Regions from separate parts of the Homo sapiens genome. Here region 1 is linked to region 2. Evidence: promoter capture Hi-C in 16 types of primary human blood cells and fetal thymus (Javierre and others, 2016). All regions are on one chromosome and are shown on one strand. Each heading gives the region's core, a stretch centred on a gene start or on the middle of the fragment in contact. The rest is flanking DNA. Distances are from core to core; before and after follow the strand shown.

Region 1 (6,979 bases), core at 3,081-5,580, 110 kb after region 2:
GTGGTAAACAGTTTTGTCTCAATATATCAAAGGAGGCAATGTGTATCTTATCAGCAGATATCTAATGTCTGGCCGTGCTCCTCATTAAAAGACTGTTTACTAGATTACAGTGATAATGGTCCAACCCCACATTATTGAGTATGTTTCTCCTTGTGACTAAACAATAATCTGTGTGATCTTAGTTTATTCTCAAGAAGTACACGTTTATTCAGTTTAGCAGTATATCTTGTCATGGTTTTAACAACAAATGATAATTCTCATTGGAATTATAAAATATCATTCTTTGTATGGAGATATTTTATTACGATTATTTCTTTTGTATAGAAGGCCGGACTCATTGGCTCACACCTGTAATCCCAGCACTTTGGGAGGGTGAAGTGGGAGGACGACTTGAGCCTAGGAATTGGAGACCAGCCTGGGCAATGTGGCAAGACCCCATCTCTATAAAAATTACAAAAAAATTAGCTGGACATGGTGGCACACACCTGTAGTCCCAGCTATCCAGGAGGCTGCGGTGGGAGGGAATCACCTGAGCCTGGGAGGTTGAGGCTGCATTGAGCTGTGGTTGTGCCACTGCACTCCAGCCGGGGCAAGAGTGAGATCCTATCCAAAAAAAAAAAGAAAAGAAAAAAAGAAAAAGAAAACCAGTAGGAAACCAAAGAATGAAGTGCTAGAAAGTAAAGACATGGACGTCCTTAGACAAAGTTAGCAGTTTACCATATTCCTGATAAAGTGACATTTTATTTTAAACATGGATAGGATAAGAAAGCTCCAGTCTACAAACAAAACATGCCAGAAGATTTTTAGGCGATGATGCCACCTGCACATGGAACCAAAAGGTGAGAAAATTTGTAAGAACGTCAAGGTGCTAAAAGGGGGAAATTAGGTCAGTATGGGACAGAGGGAGTTGTGTCTTGATATGAGGTCTGAGAGGTGAGCAGGGACAATATTATCTGTGGAAAGATACATGGATTTTAATGTAAGCGCCACAAGAAACCCCTAGAAGGAACAATAAAATATGGATTATAAAAATTTCATCTGCATCAGAAACATTTGTTAGAAAGGTTGACAGTATTGATGTCCAGGAACTTCCCCTATGTCTGATTCAGAGGGGCGGGATGCTGCTTGAACATCCATTTTTTAACAGGCTCTTCAAAGATTATTATCCACACCTAAATGAAAACTGTTTCACTAATCACCAACCTTACTATTTTACATAAACACTTGTTAATCTCTGCATTCCTTTTTTTTTTTTTGAATTTCATAATGGTGTTTTAATATTACTGAGCTATTTATTTCTAGTTGGTGTTATTTTCAGTTTTTCTCTTTTCTTCCCTAGAATTTTTTTTCAAATAGAAAAATAAGATATTTTTAAAATTTTCTTTCAGATTTGCAGTTGGAAGATGATACAATCGGCTGTAAAGAAATGCCCACCTCTGAAAACTGTCCATCTTTTGCTCTACATCAGAAAATAAGTAGACAGAAACCACGTGAATGTCAGGAATATGGAAAGACCCTTTGTCAAGACTCAAAGCCTGTTCAACATGAAAGAATACATAGTAGTGAAAAACCCAACAGATGTAAAGAATGTGGGAAGAACTTTAGTAATGGACATCAACTCACCATACATCAGAGATTGCATGTTGGTGAGAAACCCTATAAATATGAAAAATGTGGGAAGGCCTTTATCAGTGGCTCAGCCTTTGTTAAGCATGGGAGAATTCACACTGGTGAGAAGCCACTCAAATGTAAGCAATGTGGAAAGACTATTAGTGGTAGCTATCAACTTACAGTACATAAGAGTATTCATACTGGGAAGAAACCATATGAGTGCGGGGAATGTGGGAAAGCTTTTCTAGTATATGGAAAGCTTACCCGGCATCAGAGTACTCACACTGGTGAAAAACCCTTTGGGTGTGAGGAGTGTGGGAAGGCCTTCAGTACCTTTTCATACCTGGTTCAACATCAGCGAATTCATACCAGTGAAAAACCTTACGAATGCAAAGAATGTGGGAAGGCCTTTAGCACTAGCTCACCCCTTGCTAAGCATCAGAGAATTCATACTGGCGAGAAACCCTATGAATGTAAGGAGTGTGGGAAGTCCTTCACTGTGTATGGACAGCTTACTCGACATCAGAGTATTCATACTGGTGAGAAACCTTTTGAATGTAAGGAATGTGGAAAGGCCTTTAGACTTAGTTCCTTCCTTCATGCACATCAGCGAATTCATGCAGAGATAAAGCCCTACGGATGCAAGGAATGCGGGAGAACCTTCAGTCGTGCCTCATATCTTGTTCAACATGGAAGACTTCACACTGGCGAGAAGCCCTATGAATGTAAGGAGTGTGGCAAGGCCTTTAGTACTGGCTCATACCTTGTTCAGCATCAGAGGATCCATACTGGGGAGAAACCCTATGAATGTAAGGAATGTGGCAAAGCCTTTATTAGTCGCCATCAGCTTACCGTACATCAAAGGGTTCATACTGGAGAGAAACCCTATGAGTGTAAGGAATGTGGCAAGGCCTTCAGAGTGCACGTACATCTCACACAGCATCGGAAAATTCATACTGATGTAAAGCCCTATGAATGTAAGGAATGTGGAAAGACTTTTAGTCGAGCCTCGTACCTTGTACAACATAGCAGAATCCATACTGGTAAGAAGCCCTATGAGTGTAAGGAGTGTGGCAAGGCCTTCAGTTCTGGCTCATACCTTGTTCAGCATCAAAGAATTCATACTGGGGAGAAACCCTATGAATGTAACAAATGTGGGAAAGCCTTTACTGTTTATGGACAACTTATTGGACATCAGAGTGTTCACACTGGTGAGAAACCTTTTGAATGTAAGGAATGCGGGAAGGCCTTTAGACTTAATTCATTCCTTACTGAACATCAGCGGGTACACACTGGTGAGAAACCCTTTAAATGCAAAAAATGTGGGAAGACCTTTAGATACAGTTCAGCCCTTAAAGTGCATCTGAGAAAACATATGAGTGTTATACCCTAAGAGTCTGAGGAGTGTGGGAAGTGCTTCGTGTGTGGCTCAAACATTGTTGAACATCGGGGAATTTATGCTGGTAGGAAACTTTCAAATGTGAAGAATATTGGCAGGTCTATTCTCATCTTATAATTCATAATATAACTCAGAAAACATAAGAATATTCCTTTGTCATTTATAGGTTTGTAATACCAATATTTATACTGGTGGACCATTCAGAAAAAGTGGGAAACGTTATTACTTAATGGTTACAGCACTGACAGCATGAACTTTTATATGATGCATTTATTCTAATGTGATTGTATGAACAAGTGAATAAAAAACCTTGGACCTCCTAAACCACTGCTGAACTTCAAATAATTCATTATTTTTTAAAACCAGTTAACAATGTAATGAAAGCCTTTAGCCATGGCACTCACGTTAACTATCATCATTGTTATTCCACTGCCTTGCAGCCAGTTAGATATTAGGCACTACACTTATCACCTTACAGCATTGTTTTAAAATGGTGATAATAGAACCTACATTCTTATTAAAAAAAAAAAAAAAAAGCCAGGCTTGGTGGCTGAAGCCTGTAATCCCAGCACTTTGGGAGGCTGAGGCAGGCGGATCACGAGGTCAGGAGATCAAGACCATCCTGGCTAACACGGTGAAACCCCCATCTCCACTAAAAATACAAAAAAAAATAGCTGGGTGTGGTGGCGGGCACCTGTAGTCCCAGCTACTCAGGAGGCTGAGACAGGAGAAAGGCATAAACCTGGGAGGTGGAGCTTGCAGTGAGCCAAGATCATGCCACTGCACTTCAGCCTGGTGACAGAGCTAGACTCTGTCTCAAAGAAAAAGAGAAAAATTGAGACCTCAATTAAACTGGGCATCTGAGCTGGGCACAGTTCAAATGGGAGGTCGGGAGGCTGAGGTGGGAGGTTCACTTGAGCCCAGGAGCTCGAGATCAGCCTGGGCAATGTAAAGAGACTCTGTCTCCACAAAAAAATAACAAGTAAAATAGAATAAATTGGCTATCTGGCACCTATCAGGGACATGAGAGTTCCATTGGATAGCTTTACCGAGAACCCAGAATTGTGTATTCTGGGAAGGGAAATGTATGCCTTTGTTATTATCAGTAATATCTAACACTGAAGGAAATAAGGAGTTATTTGGCCTTGTATTGTGGCCATAGTATATCTAGAGACATGTGTGATTTACGTTTATATTTTAGGTATCTGTAAGGTAGGAGATTGCTAGAGTTTTTACTCTGAAGTGCACAACTCTTAGGCAATGGCCCAATAGTTTGCAATAAATGTGAAGATGAGGCCATTTGTTGACCAGGTCATCCAGTGCTAAGATGACTGCCTGAAGTTTGGCCAATTGTGTTGACTGCTGGGGACATCCTGTCTAAGATGCAAAGTAGCAAGATTCCACTAATTTAAAAAACAACACACAAAAAATCAATATTTATGATGGTTGGCAGTGTCGTTCATACAGTCTGCAAACTGCTATTGCTGTTTACTTAGTTAATCCCAAGGGTCTCCCCAGGTAGCCAACCAGTCTAGGAGAGGGGGTGACTTCTTCCAGTACCATGGCATGTGGCAAGAGACTGAGGACAAAGGAGACCACCTCTCCTGTAGATGGAATACGCCAGAGGGCCCAGATTTGGCTCTATCCTGTATTAAGGAGGCCTCGGTAGCCATGCCAAGTTTGTAGGTTGCTGTTTCTTGACTCAAAACAAATGGGCAGCTAAGTATTAGGTCTGTGAAAGTCTCTATTTCTAGAAGAGCCTAGTATGTAGCTAGTCAGTTTGTTTTAATGGAGGCATAGCATGATTTTGAGAAGGGCAGTTTCTTGTATCAGAAGCCCTTGGGAAACTTCTGGCCATCAGAGGTGGTCTAGAGACTCAAGGACACATGAGAAGAGGTTGCCAAAGCCTTGACAGTGAAGGGATCTCTTAGGGCGCTAACAAATGTGTCTGTCGATGTCAATGTGGACACATTTTAAAGACTGCTGGGGGGAATCACCCTGTCTGATGTTATGGGTTATTATATAGCTAAGGATACAAGACACTGTGGTACTGGGGAGGGATAAACAACATAGGTCTAAAGAACAGAATAGATAACCCAGAAACGTGCAAAGAAATATAACCAACTGATTTTTGAAAAACAAGTAAAAGCAAATAAATGAAGGCAGATAAGGCTTTTCAGCAAATAATGCTGGAGCAATTGAACGTCCATAGACAAAAGATGTGAACATCAACTTAATCCCATACTTTAAACACAAATTCACTCAAAATGGATCACAGACTAAAATATAAAATATAAAAGTACAAAATGTTCAGAAGAAAATACAGGAGAAAATTGTCAGAACTGAAGGCTAGGTTTACCCTAGGTAAACCCATTAAACAAAAGAAAAAATATCCAAAAATAAGAGTATCAGTTTCCACATTAAAAAACTAACGAAGAGAAATGCAAAATGAGCAGAAGAGAGTATATAATAAAGATTAAAATGGAAGTCAATGAAATAAACAGAATGAACTGTGAAGAAAATCAGTGAAACCAAAAGCCTTAAGAACAATACAACTGATAAACCTCTAGCCAAGGATTATCAAGTTACAAAGAAGCACATAAATTACCCAGATTGGGAATGAGAGACATGACAGATTCTACAGATATTGAAAGGAAAATCATGAACCCATTTATGCCAATAAATCTGGGAAATAAAATAAAATGAACAAACTCTCTTTGAAGACACAAACCACTAAAGTTCACTTAAGAAAAATAAAAATGTATATCCCTATATTTATTTTTAAAATCAGATTTGTAATTAGAAACCTTCCTACAAAGCAAACTGTGGCTTAAATGGCTTCAGTGGTATATTCTACCAAACATTTAGGGAAGAAAACCTAAGAATGCAGAAACTCTTCCAAAAAAGTGGAAGCATAAGGAATGCTTTCCAACTTAATTGGTGAAGCTATTATAGTGATACCAAAACCACACAAAGGCATTACAAGAAAACCGCAGATCAATATCCTTCATGAACATAGGTATAGAAACTTCAACAAAATTTTGGCAAATCAAACCCAACAATACAAAAAAAGGATAACACATCAAGAAAATGTAGATTTACCCTCAAAATATAAAAGTTCACTTGATATTTGAAAATCAATGCAATTTACCATTAAAAGACTTTAAGGCCAGGTGCCCCAGTGGCTCACGCCTGTAATCCCAGCACTTTGGGAGGCTGAGGCAAGCGGATCACTTGAGGTCGGGAGTTTGAGACCAGCCTGACTAACATGGAGAAACCCCATCTCTACTAAAAATACAAAATTAGCCAGGCGTGGTGGCGGATGCCTGTAATCCCAGCTACTCAGGAGGCTGAGGCAGGAGAATCACTTGAACCTGGGAGGCGGAGGTTGCGGTGAGCCAAGACCGTGCCGTTGCACTCCAGCCTGGGCAACAAGACTGAAACTCTGTCTCAAAAAAAAAAAAAAAAAAAAAAAAAAAAAAAAAAAAAAGACTTTAAAACAAGGTAAAACGTGATTGTAGCAGGTAAACTCTAAAAAGAACCCCAAATCTCTACTTCCTGGAATTCTTACCCTTGGGTACCCCTCACACATTTTACAAGGGTTGATCTGTAAAGCCCGTATAAAACAGAAAACATGAGAACATGTAACTTCCAATTTTAGGTTATTGAAGACACTGGTCTCCTTCTTGGGTAGACTCTCCTGCTCTTGGATCACTTTCTCTGTTTGAAAGAATCCCTGTGACGAGCATCCCTATGGAGAGATCCATGTGGCAAGGAACTAAAGCTTCCTGTCAACTGCCATGGAAAAGAGATTAGAATTGAATCTTCCAGCCTCCAGCAAGTTTCCTGAGACTGTAGCTCCAGAGACAGCTTAACTGCAATTTCATGGGGGATTCTCAACCTTGACCTACCTAAGCTGCTTCCAGATTAATGTAATATTCTAAAATATGTAAACAAATGTAGAGTGAC
Region 2 (7,176 bases), core at 2,287-4,786:
AAATATAAAAAGATGATCTTTTGTGACTAAGTAAGTTTTTCCCCAGGAAGGCAAAGATTCATTTAACACCTAAAAATCAATCAATGTAATTCATCATATTAAGAGAATAAAAGAGAAATGTCCTATGGTGATCTCAATAGCTGTGGGTCTCACACCACTTACCAAAAACATTCTAAGTAAAGCAGGAATTCGAGAGAATTCATTTCTGTGATAAAGCATATCTACAAAAAATCTTCAGTTAATACCATACTGAATACTCTTAACCTATGATTAGGAACTGGGAAAGAATATCCATTGTCTCTTCTTGTATTTGATAGTTTCCTGGATGTTGCAGCAAATGTAGAAGATAAGAAAAATTAATAAAAGGCATAGAGATTAAAAGAGAAGAAAGAAAAGTGCCTTTAAGCACAGAAAACGTTTGTCTATGTAGAACATCTGAAAGAGGGCTGGGCACAGTGGTTCACACTTGTAATCACAGCACTTTGGCAGGCCGAGGTGGGCAGATCACCTGAGGTCAGGAGTTCAAGACCAGCCTGGCCAATATGGTGAAACCTGGTCTCTACTAAAAAAACAAAAATTAGCTGGGCATGGTGGCACATGCCTATAATCCCAGCTACTCAGGAGGCTGAGGCAAGAGAATCGCTTGAACCCAGGAGGCAGAGGATGCAGGGAGCTGAGATTGCACCACTGTACTCCAGCCTAGGGGGGATACAGCAAGACTAAAAAAAAAAAAACACTAAAGAATCTACAAAGAAACTACAAAATGTAAATAGAAAATGAGCAAGGTTTCAATACAAAAGTAAATATATCAAAAGCAGTTGTTTTGTCCATATACTACTATATGCCAATATATGTATATAGTACGTGAGTACACACACACACACACACACACACACACACACACACACACACACACCCCATCATCATCATCATTTTCAGGGGCTAGGGAAGTTGATATTGGTCAATTATCAATCTCACCCAGGGCCCTGACAGCTGGCCTATGGAATTATTGCAAGTGATATTGGTGCCCTTGGGGCATAAAGCTTTTAAGCTAGCATGGATCTTGTATCTACCTGATGTACATCTTATGTCCTCGTTCCTGGGAGAAGACAGCTCACAGACAGCTGAGTTTTTGGCTGCACATCCTACTTAGAAGAGAAATGCCTGATTGTGCCATGCTGACAAGTGTTGGTCCTGGCAAATACAGAAGGAAATAAAGAGAAATAAAAAGCATGTAGATTACAACAGAAGGAAAACTAGCTTTATTCACAGAAACATGATTCCTAGAAACATTATTGTGTATGTAGAAAATCCTATGGAATCTGCAAAGAAACTACCTGAAATCAAAAGCGATTTCAGTGAGGTTCAATATACAAACTCAATATGTATGCATATATACATTTATGTACATACACAGTCATGCACCTCATAACAAGGTTTTGGTCAACAATGAACTGCATATACGACAGTGTTCCCATAAGATAATATGACATTGTTACTGTTTCTTTTCTGTGTTTAGATATATTTAGATACACAAAGACTTAACGTTGTGTTACAATTGCCTCAAATTCAGTATATGCCGTACAGGTTTGTAGCTACAGGCTATACCATATGGCCTAGGAGTATAGTCAATTATACCATCTAGGTTTGTGTAGGTACAGTCTATGATGTTTGCACAATGACGAAAATCACCTAATGATGCATTTCTCAGAAGGTATTCCCATTGTTAAAGCGACACTGGACTGTATTATATGTATTACCTATATTCTACCAATGAACTATCAAAAATTAAAATTTAAAAGATTCCATTTACAATAGCATTTACAAACCCCATAGAATACTTAGAAATAAATTAGCAAAAGCTGTGGAAGATCTATGCACAGACAACTGCAAAACAGTTGCAAATTTTCTCTTAAAAAGCCAGATAGTATGAGGTTGGTACAAAAGTAATTGCGGTTTGAAAGTAATGGCAAAAACCACAATTACTTTTGCACCAGCCTAATAAGTAGCATAGCCTTTGTGGGTCACGTTGTCTGTGACACAGACTCTTTGTGTTTCTGTGTATTCTGCTGCAACTCTTTAAAATTGTTAATAGGATCCTTCACTCACTGGCCTTACATGTAGGCTACAGGCTAAATTTGTTGGCCCATAGGCTGCAGTGCTGACCCTTGCTGCGAAATATTTCTAGGAGAAAATACTCAAGACCTAAATCTATGGAGATATATATCATCCCTGTGGCCTGGAAAAGTTAATATTGGCAAGTTGTCCATCTTGGCCAGGACCCTGAAAGATAGTCTATGTTATTGTAAGAAAGATTGGTGTCCTTGGGGGCATGGGCTTTTAAGCCAGGGTGGAATCTGCAGAAGTCTGAGGTGCCATTTCCTGTCCCTATACCTGGGAGAAAATAGCTCTCAGACAGCTGTGTGGCTTTCTGCAAAGCTCAATTAGAAGAGAAATTATCAGGCGTGGTGGCGCATGCCTGCAGTCTCAGCTACTTGGGAAGCTGAGGTGGGAGGATCTCTTGAGCCCAGGAGTTCGAGGTTGCAGTGAGCTGTGACTCCAGCCTGTGTGACAGAGTGATACGCTGTCTGGAGAAATTCATCATGGAGATATGCTGATAATTGGTGGTCCCTGCCTACATCCTCCCAGGAGACTGAGCCAGACCCGGTGTGGCCAATGGTCCACTTATAAATTGAACCATGTTAGACCTCCTAACAGTGCAAGTACTCATTACAGCTCTGACATGGTGCTAAGCACCCCAAGTATTATAAACAAGTGTAATCCATTATGCACACACGGTGAGGCTACACCAAAGTCTGGTGGTTAAATGCATGATCTGTGGAATCAGACAGCATGGGTTCAAACCCTGGCTGGGGTGAGATGGGGAACTTTCTAAGGCTTAAATGCTGTTTTACCAAATATTTTAAAAGAAGTGAAAATACACTGCCTGTTAGAAAGGGAAGTTTTGGGGTGAAGCATGTGGGCAGTTTAGAATACCTGGTGTCCACCTCAGAAACCATCACAGCCCAGATGTTATAGGTTCAGGCCTTTCCAGGGCGGGCACATAGAATGTCCTCGCCTCCAAGGTTTGGAGAGCTGCGCTATAAAGGTTCTTGCAGGCGGTGTCCTGAGCCCAGAGCTGCCTGCAGGCGGGCAGGAGTTGTGGGGGTGTTGGCATGATCTGGTGTCCTCTGTGGCGGCTGCCTGAAAAGAAGAGGCCGAGGGTTCTTTGTCCTATGTCTCTCCGAATCTTAATACCTGCCCTGCAGCAGACTCCCTGGCTGCCAGGGCACACCGGTCACCCCGGTAGACGGTGCCGCCCCGCCCTCGCCAACCCCTTATCCCAACTCCCATTTCCAGCCTTCCAGGAAGCCCGATCCCCACCCCCGCACCATGTGAGCTGCTCCTCTACTCCGCGTAGGGGAGGCTCTGCCTCCGGTGACCCCGAGGGAAAGAGCTAGAGCACCCACAGGTGCTGACTGCTGCGGCGCTGAGGACGCTGCACACCCGTTCACCGGCTGACCCAGTGCTGCTGACAACCAGCGTCCGCGGCCCCCAACCGTCGAACAGAGCGCGTGGGACCATCTGGTGCCAAACGCCTGCAACGGAGTGCAGAAGGTCACGAGGCGCTAGAGACCGGTTGGGGGCAGGCGGTTGGGCCTTGACGCTCTTTGCTGGGCGTCGTTTTTTCTTCTCGCCCCCTTCGCTCCTGTGCGCTTAGTGCACAAGCCCTGGGCTCACACACCCTTTCTCTGTCACGTGTTCCAACAGCATCTCACCTGCATCGGGCTGAACAGGAGACCTCAATTTTCTCCTCTACTCCAAGGATTCGCCGGCTCACAATTGCTCTTCATATCTTCAGCAAGCTTTGTCTGTGCCCTGCCCCTCTGTCCCCCATTGCCTACCATACCCGCTCCCACCAAGCCTGCATCACCTCGCTGTCTCTGTGCCTCTCCCCGGCCCCCTTCCAGGCCTTTCTCCCACAATTTCTGGTCTTTGCTCCTGGGTGTTCCGTCGACCCTAAGAGGCGGTGTCTGATCTGGCAGGCTCAATGCCTTTCTCTGGCGCTGTCTGCACCTCCAATATATTCAGTGACTCAGGAAGGATCCATCCTGCAGGGCCCAGATAGACTCTCCTGTTTGCCACCTGAGCAGAAAGGCACCTCTGTGAGGTCTTTGCCACCCAGTCACCCTACCAGACCCAATCAGCACGTGGGAGACGTGGATGACAGGAGGACAGAGATGGAGAGGGACCAAAAGACTACATGGGGCCTTGAAGGATGTCATAAGAACGTTGCCTTTTACTGAGAGATGGGAACCATGGAGGGTTTCAAACTGCTGAGACTGGCATGATATGACTTAGGGCTTTTTTGTTTGTTTGTTTGTTTGTTTTTTCTTTTTTGTGACGGAGTCTCAGAGTCTTCCTCTGTCATCCAGGCTGGAGTGCAGTGGTGTGATCTTGGTTCACTAGAACCTCTGTCTCCCGGGTTCAAGACATTCTCCTGCCTCAGCCTCCCGAGTAGCTGGGATTACAGGCACCCACCACCACGCCCGGCTAATTTTTGTCTTTTTAGATGTTTTATCTCAGAGAAAGAGCTTCCATGTTCTCTAACTCTTGTAAACAGGTATTCTTCAAGAAACTTTACAATATAACATTCATACACAGAAGTGTACAAATCATCTGTCTATTCCTCAATACATTTTTGCAGAATGAACAAACCTATGTAATCTAGATCAAGAAGCAAAACACAGGCACCTCAGAATCAACCTCATGCTCATTCCTAGTCACTATGCCCCTCCCAAATTTTTAACATTATAGATTAGTTTTGCCTATTTAAAAACTTTATATAAATGGAACCCTACCATGTGTCCTGTTTGTGGCTGTGTCTTTTCATTCAACACTTCATAAAATTCATCCATGTTGTTGCTTTTAGCAGCACTTTATTCTTTTATATTGCTGTGTGATGTTCCATTGAACAAATATAATTTACCCATTCTATTATTGATGGATGTTTGGCTATTAGAAATAATAATGCTACTGTGGCTAGGTGTAGTGGCTCATGCCTGTAATCCTAGCAGTTTGGGAGACTGAGGAGGGAGGATTGCTTGAGACCAAGAGTTCAAGACCAACCTGGCCAACATAGTGAGACCCCCATCTCTCTTTAAAAAAAAAAAAGAAAGAAATAATGCTGCTGTGAACATTCATGTGTATGTTTTCGACTACTTCTGAGGTAGGACGCAGGACTCGACTCCAGAGCCGGGGCTTGGACACTGGAGCAAATTGAGGACTAGCTAAAACAGGGTCAGGGTGGAAGCAGCTTTCCATCAGACACACCCACCAGTGTGCTATGTCAGTTTACATTTGTCATGGCAACATGCAGGAATTACTGCTCCTTTCCATGGCAATGACCCAATGACCCAGAAGTTACTACCCTTTTCCTAGAAATTTCAGCATAAACCACCCCTTAATCTGCATGCAATTAAAAGTAGATGTAAATATGACTGCAGAACTGCCCTGAGCTGCTGCTCTCTGCGCCCTGCCGATAGAGTAACCGTGCTCTGCAGGAGCAGTCACAGAGCTGTAACACTGCCTCTTCAATAGAGCTGTCTTCTTCCACCACCAGCTCACCCTTGAATCCTTTGCTGGGTGAAGCAAAGAACCCTCCCAAGCTAAGCCCCAATTTGGGCTTGCCTGCCCAGCATCACTTCCAATATCATGGAAATTTTCAGTGATGCCTACTATGAGGTTTATTGCTTAACTTTTCACATTTAGCTCTGGAATTCTCCTGTCGATTTGCATGTCTTTTGTAGATTTATTTCATGTTTATTGATGCTACTATAAATCCTCTGAAGGGATTTACCTTTGGATGTAGAAGGCAGCTAGGATGGGAAAGCACACTTTATTCTGAGATTAATGTAAGTCAGAGCCATGCTTCACTCTTTTTGAAGGCTGGCTCTCTCCTGTTATCCTTATTTCTGGGATACTGGCTTTCAGACGTTTTACATGAAAACCTGAGTATTTTTTGGGGACCCTCTTCATTGGCAGGTCCTGACTCTGAATTTTTTTCTCAGCAGCCGCTGAAATTGCTGAATTTTACCTCCAAAACTTGATTTGAAAAAAACGAAGCAAAGGTAGAAAGAATATCATTCTAAAATCATTGTTTTATAAACAGATTTTGCTACGTAGATGCAATTGGCCATAATAATGGCAGAGAAGGCCAGATTTTCTTTCTAACTGTTATAACAGTTTTTAAACATGAAAAAGGTTCATTTAGAAAACAATGTTAAGGTAGGGGCACGGCAGAGAATGGGAAGATGGTCAGCCGGGAGGAGCAGTGCAAGAAGAGAGCAAAGACACAAGCACTCTTGTGTGCAGAAAAGGCATGGTGAACATAGGGGTAAAAATCACTAGCCCTTCTCGGAGCAATTCCAACATTATCTGAAGGAAAGTCCATGGACCATGAGAACCCCCCACCTTCTGAGACACATATATCTGGACTGTGGGACTTTGACCCATGTTGGATCAGCCAGATCCCCTCTCCCTGGAGCAGTTTGTCGGCACAGGAAGAGAACAGCTCAGCCCTTGGAGAGAGAGTCACTTATGGGTAGGATGCCCTGGCTTCCTATGGCTGGCAAGTGTGAAAGTTGATTATATAAATTGAGCCATTCTTGTTATACCCAACTAAAACAGAATTGGAAGGCCAGGAGGAGAAAACACACTCAGGGCACGCCAAGAATGTAATTCTTTGCAAGCCTAGCTGCTGAAATTGCCTGCTGTAACCCAAAAACGGTTTTATGTAGTAGCTTCTGAAACAACCTGCCGGACTCTATGATTACTTTTACCCACTGCTATCACTTACCAATCAGAACTTGCCAGCTCCCCAAAACTTTACTAGTGCCAATGAGTTGTCTTTGCAAAATAAATTGTCTTTGCTCTTTTAACGAAACCTCTTTCTATTTGTTCTTCTAAAAGGCTGCCCAGTTGTGTGCCCTGAATTGCAATTTTCACTTCCCAAATAAAACAGTTTATATTTATAGAGATTTATCTCTGTATTTTGATTTCGACCCAACGCCCTGATTTGCTCACTGCTGTGATCCAGTTGTACCTCCAGGTTCAGTCAATCCTCTCCAATTCTTCAAGGATTGTCCCAAGATAGGTTAGTTTTGGCTGTCCTAG

What was found. The method cuts DNA at HindIII sites, captures the fragments that hold promoters and counts their contacts. A CHiCAGO score of 5 or more calls a contact.
Region 1: a fragment that was not itself captured here is called in contact with the fragment with the promoter of LINC01801 in region 2 in 3 of 17 cell types (total CD4 T cells, naive CD8 T cells and naive CD4 T cells); the score reaches 5.6 in total CD4 T cells.

Annotation. Positions count from the first base shown.
Region 1 is chr19:34,941,835-34,948,813 of GRCh38, forward strand. ZNF30 (zinc finger protein 30) reads left to right here. Exons shown (of 5, transcript NM_194325.3): 5 at 1,389-3,334. The coding sequence ends at 3,004. Among named protein-coding and RNA genes, the nearest start is that of ZNF30, 18 kb to the left of the region's middle. The HindIII fragment of the contact is 4,924 bases long and covers 1,869-6,792 here.
Region 2 is chr19:34,829,333-34,836,508 of GRCh38, forward strand. It overlaps LINC01801 (long intergenic non-protein coding RNA 1801), which reads right to left and starts at 3,537. Exons shown (of 6, transcript NR_033982.1): 1 at 3,393-3,537; 2 at 2,998-3,204; 3 at 1,074-1,194. The HindIII fragment of the contact is 2,823 bases long and covers 1,042-3,864 here.